Regions from separate parts of the Homo sapiens genome. Here region 2 is linked to region 1. Evidence: promoter capture Hi-C in 16 types of primary human blood cells and fetal thymus (Javierre and others, 2016). All regions are on one chromosome and are shown on one strand. The core of a region is centred on a gene start or on the middle of the fragment in contact, and the rest is flanking DNA. Distances in the headings are between cores, read along the strand shown.

The links. The method cuts DNA at HindIII sites, captures the fragments that hold promoters and counts their contacts. A CHiCAGO score of 5 or more calls a contact.
Region 2: a fragment that was not itself captured here is called in contact with the fragment with the promoter of TSPEAR-AS1 in region 1 in 11 of 17 cell types (total CD8 T cells, naive CD4 T cells, naive CD8 T cells and 8 more); the score reaches 23.4 in total CD8 T cells.

The regions. Positions count from the first base shown.
Region 1 is chr21:44,504,725-44,507,424 of GRCh38, forward strand. TSPEAR-AS1 (TSPEAR antisense RNA 1) reads left to right here and starts at 1,320. Exons shown (of 7, transcript NR_103707.1): 1 at 1,320-1,604; 2 at 1,923-2,375. TSPEAR (thrombospondin type laminin G domain and EAR repeats) reads right to left here. Exons shown (of 12, transcript NM_144991.3): 11 at 56-157. The HindIII fragment of the contact is 6,455 bases long and covers 1-2,700 here.
Region 2 is chr21:44,749,870-44,752,755 of GRCh38, forward strand. No RefSeq gene overlaps it. Among named protein-coding and RNA genes, the nearest start is that of TSPEAR, 40 kb to the left of the region's middle. The HindIII fragment of the contact is 6,978 bases long and covers 1-2,886 here.

The DNA.
Region 1 (2,700 bases), core at 70-2,569:
GCCCACAGTGGGGAAGCAAGGCTCTGGGAGGAGGCCGGCCTCGGCAGCTCATTACCTGTAAATAATACTGTTCACCGAGAAGGTACGCCCATCGAAGGAGTTGGCCACCACCAGGAAATAATCTTCTCCCACCGAGAAAAACTCCCAGTCCAGAGCACTGCAGGAACAAGTGGGTGGATATTAGGACACAACAGACATCGCCAGGGAACTGGGGGATTGGCCAGAAGCTACCTCCAAAATTTATAGAGGAGGAGCCGGGGCCAAAGTGGGGAGTGATTTTCTCACAGTCACATATGTGTTGGTCTATTCCAGGAAAATGTAAATTAGTTGTTTGCTTAAAAAAAATTTCAAATTTTATTTTATTTTATTTTTGAGATGGAGTCTCATTCTGTCACCCAGGCTGGAGTGCAGTGGCGAGATCTCGGCTCACGGCAACCTCTGCCTCTCGGATTCAAGCGATTCTCCTGCCTCAGCCTCCCGAGTAGCTGGGATTACAAGTGTGCGGCACCACGCCCGGCTAATTTTTGTATTTGTAGTACAGACAGGGTTTCACCATGTTGTCCAGGCTGGTCTTGAACTCCTGACCTCAAGTGATCTGCCCACCTCAGCCTCCCAAAGTGCTGGGATTACAGGCATGAGCCACCATGCCTGGCCTCAAATTTTAAATTATGGTAAAATACATATAACATAACATTTCCCACCTCAACCATCTTTAGGTGCACAGATCAGGGGCATTAAGCACATTCATACTGCTGTGTGGCCGCCCCCACCATCCACCTCCAGAACGCCTTCATCCTGCAAAACCGAAGCTCTGCACCCAGTAAACATCACCCCCTCCCCCCTCCCCCCCCCCCCCCCCCCAGCCCCGGCACCCACCACGCCACTTTCTGTCTCTATGAATTTGACCACTCTAGGGACCTCATATGAATGGAATCGCACGGTATTTGTCCTTTGTGTCTGCCTTAGCTGAGACTCCAGTGACTCAAGGTTCATCCGTGTCGCACTGTGTGTCAGAATCGCCTTCCTTTCTAAGGCCGAGTAACGCTCCGCTGTGTGAATGGACACGTTGTGTTTGTCCATCCGCTGACAGACACTTGGGGAATTTCCTCCATGTGGCTACTGTGAATGCTGCTGCTATGAACACCGGGGTACAAAAGTCCACTTTTAAGAGGTTGAAACAATCAGAGAAAAAGTCTCAGGCTGCTGGTGCCTGCTGGAGGCAGGAGCTTGGTTTCCCGCTCTGGACACTGTGCAGAAATGGCGTCACAGTGCTGTGGCCTCTGTGCCTGGTTTCTTCTCTCAGCATTGTGTCTTCAGCTGTGAGGTCAGCGGCCGTGAGGTCACTCCAGGAGGTGCCTACAGGACCTGCAGGACCTGCTCGTTCACAGATGTTCTCCTAGAAGCAGAAGCTGTTTCTTGTTGCAAACAAATTTGCTGTGTCCTGTCTTAGGAGTCTCACCTGAATTTACCAAGGATGCATCTGTGCTTGGGGATGGCTCGGTTTGAGGGGTCTGAGGAGCGGCTCCCCTGGATCCTTTCCTCCCCAGGAGCCCACCTGCCGAGCTGTCAGCGTCAGCCCCACATCTCAAGATGAGGAAATGGAGGTCGAAGCCATGCACACGCAGGCGTCCTGCTGACATGCAGGCCAGGCGGGTGCCTCTGTATTCAGCAGCCTCAGGGCTGTGGCCAGTTCAGGCAGCAGAGGGGCCTCATCCCGGTGCTTCCCTGCAGGCAGTTGTGGGGCCGGCCTGCAGCAGGGGCTCAGACAGGGCCTTGGGAGAGGGAGGGATCACAGAGGTGTCCAGTGACAGGCAGGGCGGGCAGAGCCCATGGGGCCTTGGGCTCCTCACTCCTTCGGTCAGTCAGGGTGACATCTGGAGCCACCTCCATTAATGGTGGGTTATGATTTGGTTCCCATGCAGCCCGTGCCAGCTCGCTGGGAGGAGGACGAGGACGCCTGTGATCACATGCTCTGGTCTGGAGGCACGGCCGCGGGCCCCGGGTCAGTGTGAATCCGCGGGGTTACTCCTCAGTCGGATCTGAGCTCTGAAACCCAGACCCGAGGAAGACAAGCGGCCACGTCGGATGTACCAGTGGTGGAAGATCCTGTCCGGCTGCACCGAGGCTCACATCAGAAGCCGGCTTCGGTTTCACCACAAAATAAGGCATCTAGTGCCCGATTCTGCCTCCAAAGCAGCCCTGGGTCACACTCGCTGTAGGACAGATGTTATTCTTCAGAATCACGCCCTCTGGCAAATGCCCATCATCGGACAAATGGACGGATGAAGTGTGACTCAGCCATGAGAAGGGGGATGCTCTGAGCCGCGCGGCCACACCACCAACCCGGAGGACACGGTGCTGCGAGAAAAAGCCAGGTACAGAGGCCACGGCTCTACGAGTCCATTTCTGTGCAGTGTCCAGAACGGGAAATCACAGAGACAGGAAGTGGGCCCGGGGGTGCCCAGTTGGGAGGGAGGGGCTGGAAAAGGGTGTGGGGGGCTCCTTGTGAGGGGATGAGAATGTTCCAGAGTTGTCTGCAGCCATGGCTGCACATATCTGTGGATTTAATAGAACTACTGAATCTAAAAAGCAAACACAAGCGACCATTTGAAGGCAGTCAGAGCCAAGGTTACACACAGAAGCCACAAAACCCCTCAGCGCCCTTGAATAGGGTTTTGGACTTGGTGAGGCCACATCACG
Region 2 (2,886 bases), core at 327-2,826, 250 kb after region 1:
CACGCACTGTGCCCACCCGCCACTGGTGAGGAGATTCCAGGAGAAACACTGCCACCCAAGCAGCACCCCACATGGCTGGCCTCCCCGCACCGGGCCGGCACCCCACAGTGCCAGTCACCCACCCCACTTGGCTGGCCTCTCTACACCGGGCCGGCACCCCACAGCGCCAGTCACCCACCCCACGCGGCTGGTCTCCCCGCACCGGGCTGGCACCCTGCAACGCCAGTCACCCACCCCACGCAGCTGGCATCCCCGCACCGGGCCGGCATCCCACAACGCCAGTCACCCACCCCACGCGGCTGGCCTCCCTGCACCGGGCTGGCACCCCGCAACGCCAGTCACCCACCCCACGAAGCTGGCCTCCCCGCACCGGTGCCAGCACCCCGCCGCGCCAGTCACCCAGAGTCCTCCTGCCCCAGGAATGAAACCATCCTCAGGCCGGGCGCTGTGTCCTCAGTGGTGGTGTCTAGGGATGGGGTACACAGCCCAGCCTCTGCCCAGGGCTCGGAAGCCCTTGGCCAAATCCCGGCTACTCCCTGCTCCGGCAGGCTGAGCGATGCCCGTGCATGCTGAGCCAACCAACCAACAAATGTCCCTGCCTTGTGTGCCGTGTGCATGCCGGGGCGGACGGCCTGCTTGCTATGGATGTGGGGCTCCCTGCAACCCCATGAGGCCCTGCAGCAGCCTGGCTGTGTCCCCGCACCCCTGTGTGTTGGCAGAGGTCAACACCACCGGACCCCTCCACGCTGGCCCCCTGCCTCTCCATTCCCGCTTCCTCCCTGTGAACGTGCTGTCATACCGACCCCTCCACACTGGCCCCCTGCCTCTCCATCCCCGCTTCCTCCCTGTGAACGTGCTGTCATTCCGACCCCTCCACACTGGCCCCCTGCCTCTCCATCCCCGCTTCCTCCCTGTGAATGTGCTGTCATTCCCGCTTCCTCCCTGTGAACGTGCTGTGCCCTAAAGCCACGCTTCCTCCAAAGGCTGCACTCCATCCGCCCAGGTGATAAGAGTCGCTCAGACACTGTTGCTTATACGGCCGCACACACATCTCTAGCTGGTTTCTTGTTCCAATAATACTGGTATTTTTTAAAAGCAAATTTGATTCCTTGATCCACCGTGGCTGGGTGTTTTGTAAAAGGTAGAATTAAATACCAGGTGTGTGTTAGATAATTGAACCAAGCTCACAAGGCACAGGTCAGTGAGTGTGACAATTGTCAGAGGCAGGCAGAGACCGTGATGGCCTCGGCTCTTACAGAGAACATTCCCCAAGGGAGCAAAGCCTGGCAGGAGGCCTCCCTTGGAATTCACCAGAAACTTCAGATGCCAGTTACAGGGGAGCATCGAAACCGAGAATGCCGCATTTATGCCCAGGCCCTCGCCCGCAGCGACCTAACCCCTTCCAGAGGCTCTGCTGGCTGGGGCTTGCACCTCTTCCCTGCAGCCGCTGGAGATCCCATGTCTGTTCCTGCACCCCGCAGGGTGAACCTTCAGAGGCCCAGCGCCAGGGTCCCTGTGCTGCTGAGAATGAAACCCGCCCTTGGGGGATGAAGTGCCTCTCCACCAGCTCCGGGGTCACAGTGTCGCTAAAACATCCGGCTGGGCTCTGCAAAATGGCGTCTTGGGGGCACAGCCTCTTCACAGCCACAGGGCCTCCCGGGAGGAGCACAGGCTTCTGGGTGTGCTCTGTCCCTGGGACCCTCAGCTCACAGGCCAGGAGGTGGGACCCCGGTGGCTGAGGAAATGGCCACACGCTCCCCATGTCCCGTGCGACTGCTATGGAAAGAGGTGATTCCCTAAAGGAAATGGGGGAGGGGGCGCCACCCAAATCAGGGAGAATGGGTGCTGTGGCCGAATACACAAACGTGTCGCCGTAGCATCTCACAGGCCCCACATCCAAAACAGGCCCCACATCCATTGCTCCAAACCTGCTCCCGGCCCCTCGGTCCTCCCCATGGCTCCAGCCGCCCCCTGCCCGGTGTCCCACTGGCAAGCCCTCGTCCTCCCTTTCTCCCTCCGCCCCCTCCAAGCCATTGGCCCATCCTGTGGATTCCACTCCGAATCCAACTCAGATTAATCAGCACAACCTGTGGACTCCACTTTGCATCCATCTCGGATCAATCGGCCCATCCTGTGGACTCCACTCCGAATCCATCTTGAGTGCACCTGCTGTCTCCCTCTCCATAGTGCCCCCTGGCGCCCCCGCCCCCACTTAAGCCTCCAGCCTCCCAGCCTCCCAGCCTCCTCCTCCCTCAACCCGACTCACCAGCAAGAGGGACCCCTTGAAGACCCGAGTCCCAGCGTGCGGCTCCTCAACCTCCTCCAGTCTCTCCTCGCAGGAGGGTAAGCTCCAAACCCCCAGGCTGCCCGACGGAGCCCACGGCACCAGACTTCTCCCCACCAGCTCTGCCCAGGAGGCCTCTGCAGGAGGCCCCGGCCCACTGGCTCCTGGACCCCTCACCCTCTGCTCAGCCCGGCCTTTGCCTGTGATGCTCCCAGAACGACCCTTTACAGCTACTGCAGATGGGAAGCCCCCTCCCCCCCGCCCGGGGCTGTGTGGGTTCATGGGGTGCGCCCTGGGCCGCTCCTCACCGCCTGGAGCGCTGGATGCTCCCTTCATCCATTTTCACTTGTGTATCGTCCATCTCCCCAAATCCACGAGGCCCACAGCTGCCGAGCGTTTTCTCCACTGTTATCCTAGCACCAAGCACAATGCCGGCCACCTGATGGGTAGTAAATAAGTGTAGAGAGAAAGAGAGGGAGAGAGGGAGAAACAGGAAGGAAGGAGAGTGGGAGGGAGAGAGGAAGGAAGGGAGGGAGGGACAAAGGGAAAGAGGGGGGAAGGAAAAGGGAACTTGTAAACTTCTAACATTTAACAATTTGTTG